2 separate regions of the Homo sapiens genome follow, and region 2 is linked to region 1. Evidence: promoter capture Hi-C in 16 types of primary human blood cells and fetal thymus (Javierre and others, 2016). All regions are on one chromosome and are shown on one strand. The core of a region is centred on a gene start or on the middle of the fragment in contact, and the rest is flanking DNA. Distances in the headings are between cores, read along the strand shown. Region 1 holds the start of RPS6KC1 (ribosomal protein S6 kinase C1). Region 2 holds the start of INTS7 (integrator complex subunit 7).

Region 1 (6,192 bases), core at 2,294-4,793:
TTCATTCAATTCCAAATATGTTTAAAAGTTTTTGTCACTTATTTTTGATCCAGGCATCTTTAAGAATTGTATTTACTTTCCAAATATTCATGAATTTTATGGGTAACTTTCTATTATTAACTTCTAGTTTAATTCCCTGAGGTCACAGAGCAAATCCAATTTATATTGGTTTTAAAAATTTTGTTAACATTTATTTATTTATTTATTGAGACGGAGTTTCGCTCTTGTTGCCCAGGCTGGAGTGCAATGGTGCGATCTCAGCCCACTGCAACCTCCGCCTCCCGGGTTCAAGTGATTCTCCTGCCTCAGCCTCCTGAGTAGCTGGGATTACAGGCATGTGCCACCATGCCTGGCTAATTTTGTATTTTTAGTAGAGACAGGGTTTTTCTACATTGGTCAGACTGGTCTCCAACTCCCAACCTCAGGCTATCTGCCCACCTTGGCCTCCCAAAGTGCTGAGATTACAGGCATAAGCCACTGCGCCCAGCCTGTTAACATTTATTTTATAGCCCAGGATATGGCCTGACTTGTTGAATGTTTTCTGTACACTTGAAACAAACATTTTCTGCTACTATTGAGTGGCGTGTTCTATAAATGTCTATCAGGTAGAGTTGGTTGATAGAGCTTTTCAGGTTTTCTGTATCCTTATTCATTTATTTGTTTACATGTTTTGTCAATTACCGAGAGAGGAGCGTTGAAATCTTTTTTGTTTTTTTTGAGACAGATTCTTGCTCTATTGCCCACGCTAGAGTGCAGTTGCATGATCTTGGCTCACTGCAACCTCCACCTCCCTGGTTCAAGTGATTCTTGTGCTTCAGCCTCCCAAGTGACTGGGGTTACAGGAATGTGCCACCACGCCGGCTAATTTTTGTATTTTTAGTAGAGATGAGGTTTTGCCATGTTGGCCAGGCTGGTCTTGAACTCCTGGCCTCAAGTGATCTACCCACTTCAGCCTTCTAAAGTGCTAGGATTACAGGCATGTGCCACCATGCCAGGCCTGAGTGTTGAAATTTTAACTATAATTGTGGATTTGTCTATTTCTTCTTTTAGTTCTAATCGTTTTTGCTTTTTACATTTTTAGTTTTGTTATTAGGTATATACACATTTAGAATTGCTCTGTCTTCTTTATGAATTGAATTCTTTAAGTTTTGTCCTTCTTTATTCCTGATCATATTTCTTTGTCTTAAGTATTTCTAGTAGTGTTTTCGTGGCACATGTTTTTCCACTTTTTAAATTTTTAATCAATAATATCTGGTAAATCAAAGAAACTCAGAGAACATGGAGAGGAAGTTGCTAAGGATGATATCAAATAGCTAACTAATGTAATTAAATGGAGAGTAAAACCAGTCATGGAGATAGAAATAGGTATATGAGGGGAAAAAATGTTGAGATTTTGATTTGTTCTGTTTCCAGTGTTAGATATATAATAAAGATGTAGGTAAAGTGAGTCAAGTCCTGGAAGAGAGATATGCTGGGAGATAGACATTTGCAAGTCAATGGGAATAAAGAACAAAGGATCAAAGGCAAAATCTTGAGAAACAAGAATACTAAAAGTTCTTGGAAGGAATAGAAACCAGCAAAGGAGACTGAAAAAAGAGCAAGTCATCTGAGTATAAAAGAGAAAAGAGAAATAATGCTGACTCATATGCTAAGAATATACAAAAGTTTTAAAAAGGTAGAAATGGTCAGAGACTTTCAAAATCCAGAAATATTGGGCAAATTGAGGTCACTGGAAACTGTTTTCAGAGCAGTTTCAGAGTAGCAATATAGAGGTGAAACCAGATTGAATTGGACATGGGAATAAATGGGTGATGATGCAATGTTGATGTAGATTACTTTAAAATCAACTTAAACAACTTTGACGGTGAGTGGAAGGAGAAAGAAAGGAAGAAAAGAAGGCAAAATGAATAATGCCCTTTACTCCCTTCTCTCCTGGCTAACTCCCATCTCTCTTCCAAGACTCAGTCTTCTATCAGAAAGCCTTAGGCGATCTTCCATCCTGAATTGATGTGCTCTTTAGTACTCCATATATACATTCACCATGGTACTTATCACAGTATATTTTGTGTCTTTATTTTTCCTACTAGATGGTACTTGAGAACAGGGACTATCTACCTTTTTTTTTTTTTTTTTTTTTTTGAGAGAAGTCTTGCTCTTGTCCCCCAGGCTGAAGTGCAATGGTGCGATCTTGGCTCACCGAAACCTCCACCTCCCGGGTTCAAACGACTCTTTTGCCTCAGCCTCCCAAGTAGCTGGGATTGCAGGCGCCTGCCACCACGCCTGGCTAATTTTTTGTATTTTTAGTAGAGACGGGGTTTCACCATGTTGGCCAGGCTGGTCTCGAACTCCTGACCTGAGGTAATCCGCCCGCCTCGGCCTCCCAAAGTGTTGGGATTACAGGCGTGAGCCACCGCGCCCGGTCGGAGAACAGGGACTATCTTTGTAACTCCAATGCCAAATTGGCATCATGTCTGGCACATAGTAGGTGGTGAATTCAGGTTTAATGAATGACTAATAGACTTAGATATATGTAGGTTGAAAAGAAGGAGCCAGTGGTGAGAAAGAGATTAAACATACAGAAAGGAGATTTGGAATGTCATTGAAACAGTGTCTTAAGGTTTGCCAAAGAGGATGGGATTCAGATCACATGTGGAGTCATTAGCTGTAAAAATGAGCAAGTGATATGTGTACGTTTCAGACTGGCATGGAAATGTGAGAAGACAAAGGAATTGGTACTAAGGGCCATAGCTGCTTCTTCCTCTTCTTTTTTCCCTGTAAAGAAGAGTGGTGGTGCGGAGAGTAGGGAGGCAAAAGGAAGAGGAACAGAGTCTTTAGGATAATGGCAAAGACTTGGCATGAATATTTTGTGGAATGAAAAGGAACCTTGATCACAAAAAGATAAAGGAACTGCCAAGCGTTGATAACAACCTCAGCTGAAATTGGAAACTGTAGTGAGTGACTCGGAGAGGTCGAGTGACATATTTCTTTCTTCTAGCCAGAGGCGGACTCCAGATTTTCGAACCTGTGGGGATTTTTAAAAGATTGATATTGGCTTGGGAGCTTTTTTGGGTTGGGGGCTTGCTGTGCAGATGTGTTACAGAAAGGCGCTCAATGGAAGGAAATTCGTCTTAGAAAGAAGTAAGGGATATGTCTCAGAGAATGAGATGTTGCTGTGGGTATTTAAAATGATAGGCTGTGAATAGGTAAGGAAAGAAGGTGCTAGGCTATGGTATCTCTCCATCCCTTCAACACTCCACTTAAGTTTGTACCACGGCGGGGCGGAGGCAGGGAGGACCACGCTCTCCCGGTGTGGCGTGGCTATACCAACTCTCATAAAATCTCATAAAAGGTGACGGAGCTAGCGTACAAGAGGTCGTCTTTAGTGGAGAGGCCTGAGGTCTCCGCAGTGACGGGGGTGGCAGCGCGACCCCTTAGTCTTCAACTACAGGCCAGTCCCAGGTGCCCCAAAGGGGCTAGAATCTAAGGAGGAGTCTCCCCTCCCCCTAGAAGCGGGAGATAGCCTGGCCCGGAAGCTTCTCTGCTGACCCGGAAGCAGAGCTGTGCAGCTGAGGCGCCGCCGTGGAGCCGCCTTGGAGCCACCGCCCCCTCGCCGCTTCGCCGCTGCGTTGGGGAACCTGGACCGCGGCGGCGCCGGGTTTCCCTCATGATCCCGGGCGGGTGGCGGCGGCGGCAGAGGCGGCGGGAGGATGACCTCTTACCGGGAGCGGAGTGCCGACCTGGCCCGTTTCTACACTGTCACCGAGCCCCAGCGACACCCGAGGGGCTACACAGTATATAAGGTCACCGCCCGGGTGAGTGCCGGTGTCGGGCTGGGGTAGAGCTTGGATTGGGACCTGAGGATCTGGGGTGGGGACCCTGATGTGAGGGTACCTGACTCTGGCTCAGAGCCGAGGGTGGGACTGGGTGCTGCTCCTACTGGCGGGACTTGGGTGTCGGAGGTTGGGATTTTTAGAGTAGTGGCTGAGTGTGATATGCCCAGGGCTTCACTGTAGTAGGTCGTGGTAGAGTCCTCTTTCTGGGGGTGGGGCAGTCAGTGGTTGATGGTTTTAAATTGATGACTCAGTTCCCATCCCGTTTGGACTTTCTCTTCTGAGTTCGCAATTTGCAGAAGTGGTTTTGCTTGCTCCAGGAAGATAATGCAGATTAAAAAGTGTTAATTTATGTATTGTTTGGCTTATGTAATATAAGTTGTTTTTTCTCTTGACCTTTATCAGGTTTGCTGTGAGAAAGACAGATTCTTGGGACAGATGTCAGTGTTAGGCCACCAACCTAGGAACTGTGGATCCGGGCTTTGTCAAACCTTTGAGTTTTTCATGTTTTTCAGTAGGAGACGTGAAAAAAATCTGCTGAGGGTGGCTTGTGTGAGCTACCATGAGGGCACATTTTAAAGTTGGGAGGCTCCTTTACATCAACTAACTGGTCCAATTTTTAGTACCCACTTTATGTTTCATTGCTTTTGCCTTGAGTTTTAAAGAGAGTCTGCATCTTCTAGGAAAGTAAGAATAAATCAAAATTAAATAAGTATATATGTATGTGACGTATGTGTGCATGAATATATGTGTATAGTAGGCATTTTATGCACATCACCCAATTTAATTCTCATTTTAATGAGGAAGAAATAGATTAAAGCAAGTTTAGTAACTTGCCCAACTTTACATTGCAAGGCAGTAGCAGATCTGTCTGGGATCTGAAACCAGTTTTGCCTAACTCCAAGTTATATAAAATGTTAATAATTAACTTTATCAATTTTTAAAGAAGAGAGGTACAGATTAAGTAACAGTAGTTCAATATACATTTGGAGGATGTAAAGCAGGCCTTCAGAATAATTTTTTTTTTTTTGAGACGGAGTTTCGCTCTTGTTGCCCAGGCTGGAGTGCAATGGCATGATCTCTGCTCACCGCAACCTCTGCCTCCTGAGTTCAAGCGATTCTCCTACCTCAGCCTCCCGAGTAGCTGGGATTACAGGCATGTGCTACCATGCCCTGATAATTTTTTGTATTTTTAGTAGAGATGGGGTTTCTGCATGTTGCTCAGGCTCATTTCGAAGTCCTGACCTCAGTTGATCCGCCTGCCTCGGCCTCCCAAAGTGCTGGGATTACAGGCATGAGCCACCACACCCAGCCTGAGAAGAATCTTAAAGGTTAAATAGATCAGTTTGGGGCATGGGAGTGGCACGTGATGTATGGAAATGGTGCACAATTCAGATAAATGTGAGAAGGAGGGATAGATGAACATGTCTGTATAAAGATAATGAGAAGACCTGACCTGCTATTGCCGATTGCTGTTCGGAGAATAGAGGGATGTTTGTTGCTCCCTGCTTGCACTTAAGGTTGTTACATGGGTGGAATGTTAGTTTCAGGTTGTGTAAGAAATTTTGTGAGAGTGAGGGGCCCTTATTATACCACTCTTGAAACCTTTCTAGTCATTGGGCCCTTTGAAAATCTAGGCTTAGTTTCCTAACACATAGTGTATGGAATCAGAACAGTTTTCAACATACGTAATGTTTCTCTCACAGCATCCTACTTATCCGTTAATTTAACAGGAAAGTTATATTGTATTAATTTAGTTGCATGTCTGTGTCTCTTAGTGGATTTAGAGCAGTTCTCTATCATTGGCATTTGTTTCTGCTTATATCAAATAATAGATAAAAGAACATGCATGTGCATGGCACACAGTGCCTGAAAAACATTGTTGAATGTTTTCCTCTTCATTGTACGGAGCACACCCAATAAATGTTTAGATCCAGGCACTAAATACTGAGGGACATAAGGCTGAATAAAGCAGGGATCTTTATTCCTTTCAAGGATACTCATAGTAGAAGAGAGTTTAGTATACTTAAGTGTGATATAACACAGGAAGTTCCAGCAGACACTACAGAAAAGGGCTGTGGGAAGACAGATTGCTTCTGGATCAAGAGATTGGGGAATATGTACCAATCAAGATAGTTGAAAGAGGGGAAGAATCCAGAAAAGGAGAGGGTATGAAAAGGTAGACAGTTGAAGGGGTAGAGTCCATAAAGACCTGGAGGTATGAATGTGTGTGGAACTGGAATTGGAAGCACTGAGTATAATTATTTGTATTGTTACTTTACAAAAGGAAAGGTTAACCAAATTCAGAATTTTTTTTTTTTTTTTCCAAGGCGTAGTCTCGCTCTCTTGCCCAGGCTGGAGT
Region 2 (6,192 bases), core at 2,105-4,604, 1.0 Mb before region 1:
CTTCCCATTGCACTCTGCACAAAATCCAACTTCTTGTCCTGACTAACGGCACCACATTTGATCTAGCATTGTCCATCTCCTTACATTTGTATGCAATCTCCTTAAAGATGTCTTGTTTGCCAACATAGCCCCTAGTCTGAGTATAGAGCCTGAGACAATGCAGGTGGTCAGTAAATATCTGTTGAGTAAATGAATGGCTATCACATGAAGGATGATTTTCCTGTTACTAACTACATCCTAAAGTAATGGAATTGAGTCAGCTTCAAAATAGTATTCACTTATTCCTATAGAGATCAGAAACAATCAGCTTACTGCCAATGCTTGCTCAAAAGGCTCAGAATAAAGTACAACAGTTATAAATATATAACAGGTTATGAATGGCAGCATTTCCTGAGTGTGTTTCTAAGGACACCAGTGCCACAAAATATTTCTTTAAAATAGCGTTCAAAGGTTACATCTTATGCCTAACTGACTAATCATCTCCATTTGGATGTCTAAGAGACATCTCAAATTTAACATGACCCAAACTGATTTGATTTCAGTAAACAATACATACATCCTCCCAGTAGCTCATACCAAAAACCTCTAAGTTTTCTTGACCACTTACTCTTATATCCTCATCTAATCCATTAGCAAATCTTCTTGGCTCTACTTTGAAAGTATATCCAGAATCTCAGCACTTCACACATTTTCAGTGTCACCATCTCGGTCTAAGCCACTATTTTCTTTTCCCTGGATTGTTATAGTTGCCTTCTCATTGGTCTCCCTACTTGGGTCCCTGACCCTCCCCACTTCAGTCTATTCTCAGCACAGTAGCCAGACTGATACTTTTCAAAGGAAAGTCAGATCATGTCACACACCTGCTGAAAATCCTCCATGGTTTCCTTTCTCACTCAGAATGAAAGCCAGTCCTTTTGATGGCTTGCACGGCCCTACCTGAACGGGACTCTGGTTATCTTTCTTTTTTTTTTTTCGAGACAGTCTTGCTCTGTTGCCCAGACTGGAGTGCAGTGGTGTGATCTCGGCTCACTGGAAGCCCCGCCTCCCAGGTTCACGCCATTCTCCTGCCTCAGCCTCCCAAGTAGCTGGAACTACAGGTGCCCACCACCACGCCTGGCTAATTTTTTGTATTTTGTTTAGTAGAGACAGGGTTTCACCATGTTAGCCAGGATGGTCTCGATCTCCTGACTTCGTGATCCGCCCGCCTCAGCTTCCCAAAGTGCGGGGATTACAGGCGTGAACCACCACGCCCGACTGACTCTGGTTATCTTTCTATACTCATTGCCTATTACTTTGCTCCAGATAACTGCATGCAAAGGAGGCTTCTACCTCAGGGCCTTTGTACTTGCTGTTCTTCCACTTGATTGAGGAGGTCTTTCTTGCCTATACTTCATAAAATAAGAAATCAACTCCAGCCCCAGATCAGTTTTCTCCAGTCCCTTTCATTGCTTCATTTTCCTTTATAATATGTATCACTAACTGTCACGTTTGCTATATTTGCGGAGTGTCTGCATCTGCTGTCTAGAATGTAAGCTCTATAGGGGCAGGAGTTTTGTCTCATTAACTGCCATGTTCCTAGTACAAAGCCCGATCAAATAAGTCATGTGTCTGAGTGTGTATGCTGAGGTGGGGGAGATATTTCAGAAACAGTATTCCTTGGAGTTTGGGAACGAAAAAAAGAGTTGGAACTTGTAGCCTTCTGACCTTTAGCTCACAAAACAGAAATACTTTAACAGGTACAAGATGAAATGACTCAATATTTAAAATACTCAACTATATTCTACACGAAACTGGCTATTTCTATAACTTAATTTCCTAACAGCTTTAAAAGTTACTACAGATGAGATGAAAAAGAACAAGTCATCTTTCTGAGCCTGAGATTCACCTGTAAAACACTCACGCCAGGCATTGCTGGGAGGAGTGCAAATGATCACTTACTCTGTGTCTAAGATTGACACCTGATTTCTTTCCTATAGATATAAAATATTTTCATTTCAACTCTTCTTTAAAAAGGAAAAATTGTGGTTTTTTTCTTACAACTGCAAAATTTGAGGAATTAAACCATTCTAGACTCCTCTTCAGTGCCCCATCTTTATCCCTGTTCCACAACCACTATCCTATTGTCAGCATGAGACAAGCTCAGCTGCACCAGAATGGTAGAAAATGTCCTTAGAACTCGTAGGGATATTAGATATTATCCTGACCTGTAACTTTCACTGAGGAATAAGAAAGAAATGTATCAGAATGAGGAGGAAAGTGTTTGAAAAACACATTTAAGGCCGGGCGCGGTGGCTCATGCCTGTAAATCCCAGCACTTTGGAAGGCCGAGGCGGACGGATCACCTGAGGTCAGGAGTTGGAGACCAGCCTGGCCAACATGGTGAAACCCCGTCTATACTAAAAATACAAAAATTAGCCGGGCGTGGTGGCGGGCGCCTGTAATTCCAGCTACTCGGGAGGCTGAGGCAGGAGAACCGTTTGAACTCGGGAGGCGGAGGTTGCAGTGAGCCGAGATGGCGCCACTGCACTCTAGCCTGGGCAACAGAGCAACACTCTGTCTCCAAAAAAAAAGAGAAAAACACATTTAGTATTATACTTTTTTTTTTCAGAGGAGAAAACCCCTAAAGATTTGGTAAGAGAAGGAAAAGTTCAACATAATTTTCTTGGTTGATGGGGGTGCACTAAAGATACTGAGACTCAACCAAAGGAATATCCCATTAGGGGGCTGTGAAATTTTTGTGTTTATCAAAATAAGGTAAAAGCTTTTTTAAGAGCCTGAGAAACTCTTATTTAGACTAACCCACTAAAAATATTCACAGTTTAAAAAATAAACAGAAAAAGAGTCCCAAAAAAGTTAATAGACATGTCCAACTCAGAAAACTGGGAAGTGGCTCAAACCCTTCTGAGTTCTAGTCCAGTTCTCCAACATTATATATTGGCTACGATTAATCAAGATTTAATTGTATACCAGCTGCCGAAATGTTTCCCGTACAATAAAAATCCTCAATATGAAATAAAGGTTTCATATTACTAGTCGAGTTCTTTACTAACAAATTTCCGACCTTGCCTCCCATATCCACATCTAAGAAGGGAGGTATATCTCTTCAGCATTTACTAAATGCTTCTTTTGCATACCATTAAGTCACTTAATACAATTCTGCCGGCTCAATGGTACTGTACCCACTTTGCAGACGACAAGCCGAGGCTAGATGAAGTTAATCATAAAATCAGCGGCATTGAAACTTAACTCAGTGTAACCCCAAAGCTCCCTCTACACCAAGCTGCTCCCTGTACGGCAACAGAACTCCTGGAACTTGTCCGCAGAGAATGAGCAGGGCCCTTGCTTTTTTATGGTCTTGGCCAGGTTTAGCCTGCCTTGTAACCCGCAGGTAACAGAGCTATGGAAATCAAATGAATCGCTGTCAAGTCGGTGCAAGATTACTATTCAGCACATTTCATGAAGACCTGGTCTCAACTGAACAGACTGAAAACCAATTTCACAATTTCTTTGCAGTGTCTCTTAGAAACTAGCCACTGTCACTGCTTAGAAAATCGGGGGACTGCTCCCTCAAGTGGTCAAAACGGGCCTCTCACTAGAGCTCGCTACTTGTTTAGCCGGTATAAGGCCAGTCACACAATCCTGCAAATTTCCCGCAACCTCCCGAAGGGGTCAAAGCCCACGCCCCAGCAAAAGCACAGGCGCTCCCCGCCCAGCGAAGACATGCGCATGCGCCTATCCGTCTTCTCCCAAAGCAACCACCACCTGGTGGCGCCACTTCCCCCCACGCCTGTTTCACCCATTCAGCCCTCTCTTTCGAATACCTTTGTCCAATTCCATAAGGGCAGAGTTGGCATCCAGTTCCTGTTCGCCATAGCCGGCATCTGCCAGGAAAGACTTAGTTGAGTTTGACGCCATGACCCGAATAGTTACTCGACTAGCCTAGTCAGAAAGCTTGCAAACTCTACCCCAGGACCGCCATCTTCCCCCGCCGCCTTCTTGCTGGTTTTTCTTCCGCGCGCTGTCAAGCCCTGTTACGCATGCGCCCTGGTCACCCCGCGGTTTGTCCGCGCCTCTGCTACCCCCTGCGCAGGCGCTCAAGGAGCTCTTGGACTCCAGGTTCCCGCGGCTGGGAGAAAAGGAGGCGGGGATCCGAAGGGGGAAATGACTCTGAGGCGCCCGGACGTCGCTCGGAAGCCAATCAGAGAGCGTGACGTCAGTTTGGCGCGGAGTTTGGCGGCCGGGGCTTACAGTGGCGGGAGTTGGAGGCGATAACGATTTGTGTTGTGAGAGGCGCAAGCTGCGATTTCTGCTGAACTTGGAGGCATTTCTACGACTTTTCTCTCAGCTGAGGCTTTTCCTCCGACCCTGATGCTCTTCAATTCGGTGCTCCGCCAGCCCCAGCTTGGCGTCCTGAGAAATGGTGAGTAACGGTCCCAACCGCTGCTCGGAGCTGGCGGAATTCATTTCCCCCGAAACACACGCCACCTCCGACCAGGGCCGACTCCAATTCTGAACTCAGCTTCTGAGTTCTCCCATGGCAAGGGTAAATTAGTGTTAGCAGGGACTACTAAAGAAAGCTGTACTTTCATCCCCTCGGGACACTTGTAATCGTAATCGGGCTTTTAAAATCGTAACGTAGGCAGGGACGTCGAAATAACTGCCTTCCAAGGCCCCTTACAGCTTACATCTCCATTGCGCGTTAACGGGAAAATGCATGCATTTGTGTGTATATGTTTCCTTCAACGGTTATTTGAGATGCTCAAAACTCCTAATCATTGATTAATTCATTCGTTTGTTGTAGAATCTTAGTGAGCCCAGCTATGTGCTATAGGTATATACCAGTGAATATGACCCGCTGTTAAGGAACTCAGTCAAGCAGAGAAGACAGGATATCTGCTTCTAACAGGAACAAAATCTTATTTTCCCCGTTTACTACACGGTCATAAAAATTTAAATTATAGAGTGAAAGATGCCTGTAACCACATCCGCCAGAGATGACCCCTGTTAATAGATTGAAGTATATTATTCCAGATGTTTTCGACGCTAGAGGTAATACCTATTATTTTCAGAAATCGGATCAAAACGTCCAGTTTTTTCACTTTAATGGTATAAGTTGAACGTATTCCCATGTTAATACGTAGAAATCTAACTTATTTTCTTACGCTAAAACATTGGCAATAAGAGATTTGAGGTTAGATTTGGATGTCATCAACTTAAACTTTTTGGTAAGTTTCAGATAAGGGAGCTAACTACCCAGATTAACCTTGGACAGAAATAAAATCTCACTCATGTGAAGGTCGACTATAGCCAGAGGTTCTTTTTCCCCTTGAAACTATGTGGAAAACGAACCTGAGAAGGGAATTTTTATATTCAGCGATGAGTCTAGGAAAATAATATTGAGAAAGAGACTGAGAAGTAGTCCCTCAACTTCCTGCTAGCAGTCTGAAACTTTATACCATCCTTATTTATTTCCCTCTTAGATAATCTTTGTAATTATACTTAAATGCTCCTCTTTCTGTCTCTCCTGGGACCTTGTTTGAGTAACTTCTTTGTCCTCTGTTTAAGAGTGACAGTACGCACAGTGGCTAAGAACTCTGTCTTTGAAGTTAAACTGCCTGGGTTTTATTATACTTCCACACCTTACTATATGTGTGTTCTGGGGGAGCTGTTCAGCCTCTATTTTGTGACAGATTTTCTCCTAATTCTCCATGTGTTTACCTTTCCCTTCCCTCTTTCCTATTCTCAAGTACTCATTCGTTGTTACATAATAGTCACTGAAATTCATTCGTTATTATATGAAATCTATAGAATCATCTCCTTTCCTCTTCAGTGTTGGTGTTCCATCCTTGACCCCTTTTCTTCTTCTACCTACTCCTTTGGATGATCACAGCCACAACCAGGGCTTCTTCCACTTCTACATACATACAACCTTCTGTTACTTATATAGTAAGTCCTCACTTAATGTCTAGATAGGCTCTTGGAAACTGTGACTTTAGGGAAAACAGTGTATAACTAAACTAACTCTACCATAGGCTACTTGATATAAATAAGAATTGTTTCAGTGGCATATTTTGGTCACACAAACACCACCGAACTTCTAAAGAAAGACTCAAAGTACTTTTAATATTAAATGTTGAAATAATTGTGTGCTATACATATATTTGAGAAAGATTAATAAAAACAGGTGAGATA

The links. The method cuts DNA at HindIII sites, captures the fragments that hold promoters and counts their contacts. A CHiCAGO score of 5 or more calls a contact.
Region 2: a fragment that was not itself captured here is called in contact with the fragment with the promoter of RPS6KC1 in region 1 in 1 of 17 cell types (monocytes); the score reaches 6.7 in monocytes.

Annotation. Positions count from the first base shown.
Region 1 is chr1:213,047,698-213,053,889 of GRCh38, forward strand. RPS6KC1 (ribosomal protein S6 kinase C1) reads left to right here and starts at 3,544. Exons shown (of 15, transcript NM_012424.6): 1 at 3,544-3,812. The coding sequence starts at 3,708. RefSeq lists a silencer at 3,673-3,772. The HindIII fragment of the contact is 5,380 bases long and covers 3,532-6,192 here.
Region 2 is chr1:212,031,523-212,037,714 of GRCh38, forward strand. INTS7 (integrator complex subunit 7) reads right to left here and starts at 4,035. Exons shown (of 20, transcript NM_015434.4): 1 at 3,822-4,035. The coding sequence starts at 3,915. DTL (denticleless E3 ubiquitin protein ligase adapter) reads left to right here and starts at 4,226. Exons shown (of 15, transcript NM_016448.4): 1 at 4,226-4,420. The coding sequence starts at 4,369. RefSeq lists enhancers at 3,886-4,095, 3,974-4,510, 4,256-4,495, 4,511-5,045. The HindIII fragment of the contact is 1,190 bases long and covers 2,760-3,949 here.